Linked DNA regions of Homo sapiens: all the other regions are linked to region 1. The links are contacts of gene promoters, found by promoter capture Hi-C in blood cells and fetal thymus (Javierre and others, 2016). All regions are on one chromosome and are shown on one strand. The core of a region is centred on a gene start or on the middle of the fragment in contact, and the rest is flanking DNA. Distances in the headings are between cores, read along the strand shown. Region 1 holds the start of NDUFV2 (NADH:ubiquinone oxidoreductase core subunit V2). Region 2 overlaps TWSG1 (twisted gastrulation BMP signaling modulator 1). Region 3 overlaps TWSG1 (twisted gastrulation BMP signaling modulator 1).

Region 1 (4,488 bases), core at 1,101-3,600:
ATGTCTACTGATAAGGAAAGCTGTTCAGAATACATTACAAAAGAGCAGGCTACCAAACAGTATAAATACCTTTCCATTTTTGTAGAAACAAATTGTCTGTAAGGTCTGTTATGTGTAGACATCAAAATGTTAACAATGGTAATTTCCAGGTTGACAAGACAATGGATGATTTTTATTTTTTGAGCTTACTCTACTTGCTAGTCTCAGTATTGTTTTTTCTACACACGTATGACGTGTGTAATAAAAATTAAACTTATTCATCAACTCAAATATTTATTGTGTACATAGTGCATATCAGGTACTATTTGTTTAAAAAAGGGGGGAGGGTGGAAGGGGGAGGGAGAAGGGGAGACGGATGGAGAGAGAGAAGGAAGGAAGGAGGGAGGGAGAGAAAGAGAGTTCCAGAAACATTAAACCTGGATTACAATGGTCCTCCACTACCTCAAGTTGTTCTTTTTCATTAAAACTGCTTTTCAATTTATACTTCTAGCCCCTTTGCCTCAAAAACAAAAGAAACAAAATCTACAAGCACTCTAATTTCTTTTCTTTCTACCATGTCTGATCCTCATCATCTTTCACCTAGCATTCTGCAAGAGCCTCTTATCTACTTAGTCTCCCTGTTTCTGGGTCCAAATCAAACCCATTCCACCCTCAGTCCTATCCAGTGACCTATCCAAAACAGAAACCACATCTTATTCCTCTACTTTAAAACCTTTCACTGACTCCTGACGGCCTCTAAAATCAAATTCTTTAGTATGGCACGCCAGGAGCTCCAATATCTGGCCCCTGTCTCTCCCTTATTTCATTTGGGAACACACCTTACCTCCAACAGCAGAGGGTGGCTTCTCATACATACCGATCTTTTTCTTGCCAACAAGACTTTAAGTTGTCCTTTCCACCTAGAATACCCTCGGACCCCATGCCCAATCTGTTAGTATTACCTTCAGGAAAAATCTTATGCACCTTGAAACCACATTGGATGACCCTATTCATCTCTCTAACACTGTACTTTTACATTGTCTCAACCTTAAAGTTCCTCTTACATGAGACTATCAATTCCAAAAGAACGGGAACTGTCTAAATCTTTTCCTTATCTGTAATATGAGGAAAAAGTAATACCAGCCTCAAAAATGAGATGTGGAATGTAGATATTTAACTCGGTGCTTGGCATACAGAAAACAGTTATCAAATGACTATCATTATTATCCACACTGTTAACTAGAGCTCAGCAGTGCATGACGTACAGTAAGACTTCAAATGTTTATTGAAAGACTGAACTCTGCAAAAAGGAATATTCCCATTTTACAACTGAAGAAACTGAGGAAGATTAACAGCACAAAGTCATAGAGCCACAAAAGGCAGTTAAGCTAACATCCAAACTCGAGTCTAACTCTAAAGCCCTGAATTCATTCTCAATGAATATACACTAGCTCCCTCTTGCTGAGAACTGACTTAACCTATTTCACTCTTAGAAAACAAACAAAACTAAGGCTTCTTTCCAGTATTACTTGTGTAACAGGCCCTGTTGTTATAATCGACATTTCTGGAAATCTGCATTTTTAGATTAACGTGAAGGAGTGTTTCAACTTCTCTGCAATTCAATTTCCTTGCCTACCATGAGATGTACTTGGATCTCAAAAAGATCATTTAATCTCTAAAATCCTGTGGTTCTTTAATTGGGTGCTGTTATTTGCGGCGCCGTTCTTTCAGAGTTAGTTTGATACCGTTTATTTAGCCAGCATTTCCGATATGCAAAGCACAACTGCAGTAAATCAAACATTGGCCACCCTTTTCCAGCCCTAATGAAGTTCTCCCTAAGCCTTCACGAAGCAAGCCAGAGCTCTCCAGTATGCTGCAACCTAAAAGCATCGAGGTCACTAGGCTTGAAACGAGAGGTGCCTCCTTCGGAGCGACGGTCTTCGAAACTGATCTGGCCAGAGCAGGCCTAGATTCTGCGCTACAGCAAAACAGCAAAAACAAACAAACATATATATATATATCACCAAGCAGCCCCTCTTTTCTGTCCTCCTCGACCAAACTAGGAGTACACTTCCCAGTATGGCAACCCTCCCTCGGGGCTTCTCACGGTGGGGCTGCAGCGGCCTCCCTAAGAGGGCTAAGGCCGCAGTGTCCTTGCCGCCGCCTGCAGGCCCGTGCAGAGCCCAGGGCTCTCCTGCGCCCAAAACTAAGGGAGACACGGAGAGCAAGAGAAGGGCGGCGGCAGCGCCGGGCTCAGCTTGAGCCTCCTTACCCAGTGGGCGGTGAGGCCAGCCGCCCGGGCCCGGAGCGCCGCGGAGAAGAACATGGCGGGCCACACTGTTCACCTTCCCCAGCCGCGCCAGGCGAGAATCCCGAGCGCGCCCAGGGCGCACAGCGTGCGCGCTCCCGACCCCAGGCCTAGGCGACCCGGACGGCACGCCGCTCCCTTCGCCGAGGGGCGGGGGCTGACGGGAGGGAGCGAGGGCGCGCGGGGGCTGCTGGGGCCCTGTGGGCGGAGACTTCCCGGGGGAGGGGCGGGGACCAGTCCGTGCTCGGAAAGGGAGGTGTCCTACGGGCCGCTGCAGGGGTCCCGGCCTTGAAAAGAAGCGTCCCGGAGCTGCACCTTGGGCTCCTGGGTAACGAAGCGCCCGCCTGGATTTATAGGGGTGAGCTTCCCTCATGGAGAGCCTTGTGAGGATTAGCCACCTCCTCTTATATTGCTGTTAGTTAAAAATAAAGTCGGGTTGCAACCCACTATAAATCTTATTCTACATGTTACGAATTCAAGACACAGAGGGCTGCTATCCAGTGTGCTAGCCATAGACACCAAATGTCTTGGTTCCCAATCTTTTGCATTAGAGATATGTGCGACATATTTAGGGGTTAAATGGTATGATGTCTGGAATTTGCTTGAGAATAGTGGGGAGCGGGAGGTGAAAAATAAAGCAAGTTGGCCGTTAAGTAAGGCCATAGAAGCTGCATGGTCGTTCTTATTTACTATTCTCGGTACTTTTGTACATATTAGATATTTTCCATAATAAAGCTGAAAAAAAAACCCACTTCCTTCTTCATGTTTGTTTGGTTATCTCTGGAAATTCCAACAAGTATTTATTCAGTAACAGCTCTAATGTGCACAGCACTATTTCCTGGTGTGGACTTCCTCTTGATTTTTTACGTCACTGCCTTCTTTTCTGGAGTGTCACGTCCTGTACCCACCCCCTTCCTTTTGCCCATTTTCTTTGCTATAATAAACTTGTGAATAATTTCTAGAACATTCACAGCAGCACAGGGATTTTAAAAATTTATCCCTCATTAGTTTAAAAACTCAGAAATATTCCATTGCAACCCCTATGAATCATATTTCGCAAATCACAGAATTCAAGACACAGAGGACTGCTGCCCAGTGAGCTAGAAATAGATACCAAATGCCTTGGTTCCCACTCCTTTGCCTTATATTTTATGTTAGTTTGCCTCTCCTAAATTAGCTTCAGTATTTCCCTTTAAAAGGAAAAGACAGTCTGGCCCTTAATGTAAATGTATTTTGTTATAAAGTTACCTAAATACTTATACACCTGGCCGGGCGCGTGGCTCACGCCTGTAATCCCAGCACTTTGGGAGGCTGAGGTGGGCAGATCACGAGGTCAGGAGATCGAGACCATCCTGGCTAATACGGTGAAACCCCGTCTCTACTGAAAATACAAGACATTAGCCGGGCATGGTGGCAGGCGCCTGTAGTCCCAGCTACTCGGGAGGCTGAGGCAGGGGAATGGCGTGAACCCGGGAGGCGGAGCTTGCAGTGAGCCGAGATCGCGCCACTGCACTCCAGCCTGGGCGACGGAGCGAGACTCCGTCTCAAAAATAAAAAATAAAAAATAAAAATACTTATACACCTAACACTATTGTGCACATACTTACTGTTCTTATACAACTAAAGCCAAAACATGTCACAAATACTTGATGGATGAGATAGACATTATATGGATTCTTTTTGAATCTGTAATGCATGCTTTTACTGGATTTTATTAGGGCATTCTCTGACTCCCAATCCAGATTAGTCCTCAAGATACCGTCCCAAAATATGCCTGCCCGCACTTTCACTACTACATTTACGACCAGATTATAACCTCCATGGATGGAGAAACCTGCCCTTCCTATATTGTTTGGTTCAGCAACTTGCACTATACTTGGCAAGTAGAAGGCATTCAATAAATATTTGTTGTCTGAATGAAAATCTTGCCCATAGTGCAAATATTCTGCCTACCTAAAAGGGTTAGAATTATGCTCATTTCTATTTGTCTTAGGTCAGAATTATGCTTGTTTCTATGTGTATCGGTGAGAGTGCTTTTCGCTACAAGTAACAGGAGTTCTAACAAGTAGATTAAAGGATACTGGGTTCATTTTCTCACATGAAAAACAATTCCAGAGGTAGAGTAGCTCCAAGGTTAGTTAATTCAACCTTGCTCAAGGATGTCTTCAAAATGTTTAGTGGCTTCCATCTTTTTACTCCAA
Region 2 (4,488 bases), core at 1,421-3,920, 300 kb before region 1:
AGTGGGGATAAGACATGAGACAGGAAGAGGAGATGCCAGCCGAGGCTGTGAGACAAGGAGTCTTGGGACACAAATGCAGTCCACAAACCCAGGGCTGCAACGCATTCTGTCTCATTGTTTTCTTGGAATCAAGTAAAATCCGACTCTGAGCCTCATCCCATCCAACACTGGCCAGGAGAGAGGCTCTGCCACCCATCTTGGGACTCACAGAACCCTGGTGGCAAGTCTTGGGGGCTTTGGACAATGAGGGCTGGGCTGCTAATATTTCTAAGTAGAAACCCCTGGAAAGAAGCAACTGCAGGCTCGGGTTTCCCGTGAGTCACGGGCCGAGAGCGCTGGTCTCCACGGTCAAGAGACCTGGGCCTCTGGGACCTACCTTCCTGGCCCCTCTCTCAGGCCCTCAAAGGCCTCATTCTCTCCCTTCCCCTAGCAGAACACCCCGGAGCCAGGGAGGCTTCAGGAAAACAAGAGATAGGTTCTCTGCCCTTGCTCGACTTCCTAGTGGGTAACTCATACCTTTCCGAGGCAGACGAGCGCAACGGCCTTGCTCTTTGCCTAGAACTGGGGGTGGAAGCAGTAATTACCGGTACACGTGTTCTAGAAAGATTACGCTGGCTGCAGAGGGAAGTACCTAAGTTAGACGGGCAGGAAACACATTTCTGCCATAAAGATATTTCGCCGGTGACTGTGCCTAACTTCAGGGGCTATCTTCAGCCCAGTGAGGGAAGTCCTGTCTCCCTGACTGGCGGGGCGCCTGCACTCTCCAGGCGTCATTCGGTGAGTCACAGCGCGGACTCCAGGTTTCCCAGCATTACTGGGAGGGGGCAGAATTCTTTTCCTCTTTGCATCTGCACGGAGAATTCTCATCTCAAAAGCCAAACCTTGGAGTTGTTGCTGACTCCACACTTCAAGCAGACTTTAAAATAAAAGGAGGTAGAACATACTTTTTTTTTTTTTTTTTAATTGAGACGGAGTTTCACTCTTGTGGCCCAGGCTGGAGGGCAGCGGCGCATTCTCGGCTCACTGCAACCTCCGCTTCCCGGCTTCAAGCGAGTCTCCTGCCTCAGCCTCCTGAGTAGCTGGGATTACAGGCACGTGCCACCACACCTGGCTAATTTTTGTATTTTTTAGTAGAGACGGGGTTTCACCACGTTGGCCAGGCTGGTCTCGAACTCCTAACCTCAGGTGATCTGCCCGCCTCCGCCTCCCAAAGTGTTGGGATTACAGGCGTGAGCCACTGCGCCTGGCCCACATTTACTTTTTACTGGTTAGTTAAAGCTCAAAGGTCAAAGAGCTGTAATGGCTAACACCCACCAGCTAATGGCGCTAATGGCATGTCTGCCTGGCTTACTGAGCTCAGTGCCTGCCAGGTCTGGAGCAGCCCCATGGGGCCGGATGCGCCATGTTGTCTGCAATGTCTCCTGGAGCCTTGGGCTTGGATGCCTCCCCTTCCAGCTCAGCTTCACTCTCTCTGACTGTCCACATGACTAGCTGCTGTGTGGACACCTTCAGCAAAAGCACAGCTTTCCTGGTCAAACGTTGTATCTGTCCTTGAAACTCATCCTACCTTCCGAATGCCCCAGCTCCTTTCTTAAGTCACTCAGGCTGTCCTCTTGAGTTCTTCCCCTCTCTAGATCCCCCAGGCACGAGGCTGCCAAAACATGGACTCTGAAATAAGGTGGATTTTGCCATGGCAGCACAGTTTGTGGCTCTCAATTCTAACAGTATCCTGTGGGAGAGCTGAGAAAGGTTTTTCCCTACCTTGATCCTTCTGCAACTCCTTGCAACCTTTAGATCATTCTTATAAAGTTGGTTGGCATCTGAAGGCCCACAGAGCAAGCAGAATAGTAAAGTATTCATTTAAAAGGTTCCCCCATATTGGAATAAAGCATATGAAAAAGCAGACAGCAAAATGTTCTAAGATCTGTTCTGAGAGAATCTGTAGAGACATCCTGAGAAAAGAACATTCTTTGCTGATTGTTTTTTTTGTTTGTTTGTTTTTTAAGACAGGGTCTTGCTCTGTCACCCAGGCAGAGGTGCAGTGGCACAATCAGGGCTCACTGCAGCTTCCGCCTCCCTGGGCTCAAGTGATCCTCCCACCTCAGCCTCTAGAGTAGGTGGGACTACAGGCACATAATTACTGTGTCTGGAGTTGGCTCCTGCTGGTGGGTTCGTGGTCTTGCTGACTTCAAGAATGGAGCCGCAGACCTTCTCAGTGAGTGTTACAACTCTTAAAGATGGCACGGACCCAAAGAGAGAGCAATAGCAGGGTTTATGGTGAAGAGCAAAAGGACAAAGCTTCCACAGGGTGGAAGGGGACCCGAGCTGGTTGCCGCTGTTGGCTGGGGTGGCTAGCTTTTATTCCCTTATTGGCCCCTCCCCACCATGTTCTGTTTCTGTCCTATCAGAGTGCCCTTTTTTCAATCCTCTCTGCGATTGGCTACTTTTAGGATCCTGCTGATTGGTGTGTTTTACAGAGCACTGATTGGTGCATTTTACAACCCTCTTGCTAGCTACAGAGCGCTGATTGGTGTGTTTTACAGAGCACTGATTGGTGCATTTTACAATGCTCTTGCTAGCTTCAGAGCACTGATTGGTGCATTTTACAATCCTCTTGTAAGACAGAAAAGTTCTCCAAGTCCCCACTCGAAACAAGAAGTCCAGGTGGCTTCACCTCTCATCAACATGCCCGGATAATTTTTTTATTTTTGTAAAGACGAGGTTTCACCATGTTGCCCAGGCTGGTCTTGAACTCCTGAGATCAAGTGATTTGCCCACCTCAGCCTCCCAAAGTGACACCGCACCCGGCCCGCTGATCACTTAAACACTATCTTCTTTAGACAGAATGTCAAATTTATGTCTATGCTGAAGTTAACAAAAAATATGACTCACTCATTTCAATTTTTTATTAAAATACTTTTTTGTTAATAGGGACAACCAAAGAAAAATACACAATTTTATATGTTGTAGATCATATAAAATACAATAAACATAAACTCTTGGGAATGCAGAATAGATTTCAAAATCTTAAAAGAAGCTTTCATAAAAATAAACTTTAGAAATGTGGCTTATATTTACTGCATTTTTTCAGAAAACTTTCTTTTCTCCATTTTAATGCTACCCTGATTATAAATAATGGTCCAAATTTCTAACATCTTATCAATTTTGCTTTCTGGAATTTTAGAAATCACATGTCTAAATGAAGACCTCTTTTTTATACCACCCTACATAAACACAGAATAGATTTTATTTAAATTACCATTTGATTTGGCACCACTATTGTAAATACAATTTTAGTAATAATTAAATGTTATGGGGGAAAAACTAACAGAAAAACCTGCTAACAAGCACAAGTCTTACTATAAGAAAGGATCTTTTATATATGGCTTTTATGATACCCACTGATTTAAAACCTAGTGCTTTAAAAATCTGGTTATAAAAAAAGTAATAACCTAATTTTTTATTAAAAAAGAAAAAAGAATTTTTACCAAAACTTCAATATAGAAGTGAATGTGCTTAGAATGGTAATAGAGGATCTAACTTTTAACCAGGCTATCAACTTCTGGAATATTTACTTTCAATTTGGAAAAATATTGTTATTCAGAACCTGAAATACATTATAAAACTGGAAATGGAATCTTTTAGGTGAATTCTTTCTTTCAAACCCTCATAAATCAGAAAAAATAAGCCAAATTTGAAGGCAAAAGATCTTTACATTTAGGGATAGTTTCTAATGAAAGAAATCAAGATAAGAAAAATCAATTAAAACAATGTGGTTTAAGAAATTATCCTCCTAATGTAGGGGGTGGGAAACAGATATTACATTTTAAAATTTAATGAAGACCTAAAAAATGATAAATGCAGTTTTAAAATATTTGTTGTCATCATTAAGAAAACATTAGGCATGTTGCCAACACACACACAAACATCACTCCACTCACAGTAGGAAATGACTGAAAAACAGCAGAGTTGAACTGCAGCAGGAGACTGCAGATTCCTTTCAGCTTTCTGTCTAAAGTTCCAGAATACTTTCAGCTCTACAGATGCTCATGAAGAAGGGGAGCTAAATGTTTTCAAGGCACTTTTAAATGAGGCATTCTAGGTAAAAGGAAGAAAAGGAGACCCTAATGTTTCCCTACCAAAAAATATATCCATGAGCTAAATCTCAACTTTTTAAAAGGCTAAAATATCTTGAATATTCATTAGAGTTATTTGAAAGAGCAGAAAAGGTATTAAGACCTTAATTTATAACAGTTGATCATAATATTACAAATGATCTTTTAACTAACTACTATTCAGATCATGAATAATACAAAATGTGTCCAAGAGCATTATCTATTTTTATATACTAAAATATGTAGACGTATAAAGAGGTATTCCTAAAAAGTTGCTTGTAGTTCAAATATGCACTAGAGCAATTAGTAATTTTGTAAAATTGAGTCTGTAATATAAATATTTATGTTTTAGATTCATGCTTTAAGATTGAGA
Region 3 (4,488 bases), core at 776-3,275, 280 kb before region 1:
CCTTAACTGAACTCCTGGTTAAAGCTATTGCTTCCTTCAACCCATGTTGTTATCTTTCTTGGTTTTCTATCCTGTTTTGTTTGATTGATCCTCTACTAATTCTTTTAGAAACGGTAGGTGAGAAGTAAACTTTGAGTTCTTATTTGTCTAAAAATGTTTCTATTTTACATTCACATTCCTGATAATTTGACAGGTCAAAATAGTTTTCCCACCAACCACTTAAGTCATTGGCCCAGTGATACTGATGAGAAGTCTGATGGCAGTGTGATTTTTAACTTCTTGTATACAAACTCTATTATTCTTTCTGAAATATTTTAGAATATTTTTTAACCTAGAAGTTGTAAAATTTTGTGAAGATGTGCCACATGTAGGTCTTTTTTCACTCATCTCACTCAGCATTCTGAAGGCTCTTTCAACCTAAGGACTCACTGTTTTTTTTCTCAGCTTTGGTAATTTTTCTTCTACTATTCGATAATTTCTTCCCTCCTTCCTTTTTTCTTTTTTTTTTAATTCTTCTGGAGTGCCTATTCTTTCCCTGTTATATTATCTGCCTGTTTTCACTATATTCTATGACACTCCAATAATATTTTCAGACTCTCTTATTATTTTTCCAATTGCTTTTTTTTTTTTTTTGAGATGGAGTCTCGCTCTGTCACCCGGGCTGGAGTGCAGTGGTGTGATCTTGGCTCACTGCAAGCTCCGCCTCCTGGGTTCAAGCAATTCTCCTGCCTCCTGAATAGCTGGGATTACAGATGCCCACTACCACGCCCGGCTAATTTTTGTATTTTTAGTACAGACGCGGTTTCACCATGTTAGCCAGGCTGGTCTTGAACTCCTGACCTCAGGTGATCTGCCCACCTCGATCTCCCAAAACGTTGGGATTACAGGTGTGAGCCACCACACTCGGCTTCTTTTTTTTTTTTGAGACAGATTCTCGCTGTGTTGCTCAGGCATCAGTGGCACGATCTCGGCTCACTGCAACCTCCGCCTCCCGGGATCAAGCGATTCTCCTGTCTTAGTCTCCTGAGTATCTGGGACTACAGGCATGCGCCACCACGCCTAGCTAATTTTTGTATTTTTAGTAGAGTTGGGGTTTCGCCATATTGGCCAGGCTGGTCTCGAACTCCTGACCTCAGGTGATCCATCCGCCTTGGCCTCCCAAAGTGCTGGGATTACAGGTGTGAGCCACCATGCCCGGCCCCATTTGAATTTTAAATTTGCAAAAGCTTTCTTATTCTGATTGTTTTTCATAATACAGACATGATACTTTGTTAACTTTTTCTAAAAGATAACAATCAGTTTTTAAAAGATTTCTTTTATGTCCTAAATATTTCCTCCTTGGTCTGCTTTTTACTTCGTTCTTTCTTTTTTTTTTTTTTTTTTTTTTTTTTGAGACGGAGTCTCGCTCTGTCGCCCAGGTCGGACTGCGGACTGCAGTGGCGCAATCTCGGCTCACTGCAAGCTCCGCTTCCCGGGTTCACGCCATTCTCCTGCCTCAGCCTCCCGAGTAGCTGGGACTACAGGCGCCCGCCACCGCGCCCGGCTAATTTTTTGTATTTTTTAGTAGAGACGGGGTTTCACCTTGTTAGCCAGGATGGTCTCGATCTCCTGACCTCATGATCCACCCGCCTCGGCCTCCCAAAGTGCTGGGATTACAGGCGTGAGCCACCGCGCCCGGCCCGTTCTTTCTTTTAAGCTACACTTATTCTATTTTTCTTTCGCATCTAGTCATTAGGCTGGAGACACCTTCCCTCCCTACAATGCCTGAATGAGGAGGCCTTGCCTGGGTACCAATAACACATCAGTGGCCCTACTTCTTTTCAGCTAGTTCCCTTCAATTTCTCTAGAAAGAAATTCTCCAATTTCTTTTTCCTAGAGAAACTTCTTAATTACTTGGAACTTTTTCTGACGAATGGAGGAGGGAATTGGTTATCAAATCATACAGCTGTTCTACAGACAGATCTTCAAATAATCTCGCTATTTTCAAATTCATTTCTCACACCCACACTCCATAAAGCTGCAACTGGAGCCTCTTTGGGGTTTAGCCGGAAAGGTCACTCATACTCTCACCATAACCCCCTTTTATGCAATTTGTTTTGGTGTTCCTTCCAATCTGTTTACTAAAGAGCAAGCACATCTGGGCCGGGTGTGGTGGCTCATGCCTGTAAATCCCAGCACTTTGGGAGGCTGAGGCAGGTGGATCACCTGAGATCAGGAGTTCAAGACCAGCCTGGCCAACAGGGTGAAATCCCATCTCTACTAAAAATACAAAAATTAGCCAGGCATGGTGGCATGTGCCTGTAGTCCCAGCTACTCGGGAGGCTGAGGCAAGAGAATAGCTTAAACCCAGGAGACGGAGGTTGCAGTGAGCCAAGGTTGAGCCACTGCACTCCAGCCCGGGCGACAGAGCAAGACTTTGTCTCCAAAAAAAAAAAAAAAGGGAAAGCACATAAGCACATTTGTCTTTCCTTTTAGATATCTGATGCAGACTCAAATTACAATTGTTCCTTTTATTTATCTTTGTTTTTAGAGTTATTTCCAATCTTATCCCTTTATTTCATTTTACTGGCATCCTAAGTGGAAGGGAAGAAAATATGTGAATTTAGACCATCATATTGAACCAGAAGTCACATTAACTTGAAGGAGTTGGAAAATGTGATCAACCATTACCTGCATATCAATCTACTCATCCATTGATCCATTTCTTCCAGATATTTGTATCCAACTTCCTACAGAACATCGCCACTTGGGAACCTTATAGGCCCCTCAAATTCAACTGTCTCAGTCATCTTCCCTAACATACCTGGGTCTTAGATAAGCTTATCTTGGTTCCCTGTCACAATTTATCCAGTCACATAAACAGAAGCCTAAAGGTTATTCCTGGCTCCCATCACCCCTCAGTTCCCATTTCCAAACTGTCACCAAATCTAGTCGAGTTTAACCTGTAATTATTTTTCTAATGAGGCCACCTCTCTTCATCTCCTCTGCTATCATCCTAGACCAAGCCCCCATTACATTTTGACTGAATTTGGAAACATAATTGTTTAAGGGATTTTAAACTGTCTTCTATTCTCTTTAGAAAACTCCAGCTCCTTTAAAACACACATTATTTAATGTTACCATTCCTTTTCCCTCCTTTTGGCTATTATCTTTGTATACTCAGCCATTTCTCCCCTACTTACTAGTAACTTCAATACCTGGATCACTATCTCATTTCCACCACTGGACCCACTGTCATTCTTGACAATTTCAATATTCACATCAAAGATTCACTCAACACTCTGGCCAAAATTTCAATTCCTTAATGATACTGATTTGTAAATCCACCCTACTTTACCTACCTCATAGGTCAACTTTAATTCCTCCCTTTTCTCAGATCTTATATCCAATTCAAACCAAACTCTGACAGTTTCCCTCCAAAATATTTTCAGAATCTGAGTGCCACCATTTCCACTGCTATCAGTAATCCTAATCAAATCCACCATAATCTTTTACTTGAACTACTGCAACAGTCTCCTAATTTGTTTCTTCTCTTTACATCCTTAAATCTACCTCCATATAAAAGTCAGAATGATCATTTAAAAGTGTAATTCAAGGCCGGGTGCAGTGGCTCATGCCTGTAATCCCAGCACTTTGGGAGGCCGAGGTGGGTGGATCACAAGGTCAGGAGTTCGAGACCAGCCTGGCCAACATGGTGAAAACCTGTCTCTACTAAAAATACAAAAATTAGCTGGGTGTGGTGGTGCACACCTGTAATTTCAGCCACTCAGGAGGCTGAGGCAGGAGAATCGTTTGAACCTGGGAGGCGGAGTCTGCAGTGGCCAAGATCACACCTCTGCACCTCAGCCTGGGTGACAGAGCAAGACTCCATCTCAAAAAAAAAAAAAAAAAACAAAAAAAAAACGTGTAATTCGGATATCACCACCATACACTCTCCAATGAGTTTCCATTATACTTAGGATATAATCCAAACTCCTTTCCATGGTCTCCAACACCTGGTCCTGACCTACCTCTCTCACTCATCATTCTCTACCCTTCTCCTTATTTACAAACATCTAGCCATACTGGTCTTTCTGTTCTTCAAACTTGTATATTTAGTCATTGCATGTAAGACATATTTTGATATTAAGTGGTTCACCTCAACCTTTTTGTTATTGGTTATCTAAAGTTGCTGAGAGTTTGTTGGGGAGAGCCTCTTGTTATTTCTTTTTCTTTTCCCAGCCTCTCTTAATTTATTCTTTTTCCAACAGACTTCTTTTTGTTTTTGTTTTTTTTTTTTTGAGACGGAGTCTTACTCTGTCACCCAGGCTGGAGTGCGGTCACATGATCTCAGCTCACTGCAATCTCTGCCTCCTGGGTTCAAGCAATTCTCCTGCCTTAGACTCCTGAGTAACTGGGATTACAGGCACCCACCACCACGCCCAGCTAATTTTTTTATTTTTAGTAGAGACAGGTTTTCACCATGTTGGCCAGGCGAACTCCTGACCT

Evidence for each region. The method cuts DNA at HindIII sites, captures the fragments that hold promoters and counts their contacts. A CHiCAGO score of 5 or more calls a contact.
Region 2: a contact is called between a fragment that was not itself captured here and the fragment with the promoter of NDUFV2 in region 1, in 1 of 17 cell types (megakaryocytes). The highest score is 5.6, in megakaryocytes.
Region 3: a fragment that was not itself captured here is called in contact with the fragment with the promoter of NDUFV2 in region 1 in 1 of 17 cell types (megakaryocytes); the score reaches 6.3 in megakaryocytes.

What each region holds. Positions count from the first base shown.
Region 1 is chr18:9,100,561-9,105,048 of GRCh38, reverse strand. NDUFV2 (NADH:ubiquinone oxidoreductase core subunit V2) reads right to left here and starts at 2,350. Exons shown (of 8, transcript NM_021074.5): 1 at 2,252-2,350. The coding sequence starts at 2,305. RefSeq lists an enhancer at 1,281-1,990 and a silencer at 2,263-2,622. The HindIII fragment of the contact is 6,653 bases long and covers 1-4,488 here.
Region 2 is chr18:9,400,825-9,405,312 of GRCh38, reverse strand. It overlaps TWSG1 (twisted gastrulation BMP signaling modulator 1), which reads right to left. Exons shown (of 5, transcript NM_020648.6): 5 at 2,893-4,488. It overlaps LOC105371980 (a long non-coding RNA gene), which reads right to left and starts at 920. Exons shown (of 3, transcript XR_001753550.2): 1 at 517-920. The HindIII fragment of the contact is 739 bases long and covers 2,301-3,039 here.
Region 3 is chr18:9,382,599-9,387,086 of GRCh38, reverse strand. All of the region lies in intron 3 of TWSG1 (twisted gastrulation BMP signaling modulator 1), which reads right to left. Among named protein-coding and RNA genes, the nearest start is that of TWSG1, 50 kb to the right of the region's middle. The HindIII fragment of the contact is 1,593 bases long and covers 1,229-2,821 here.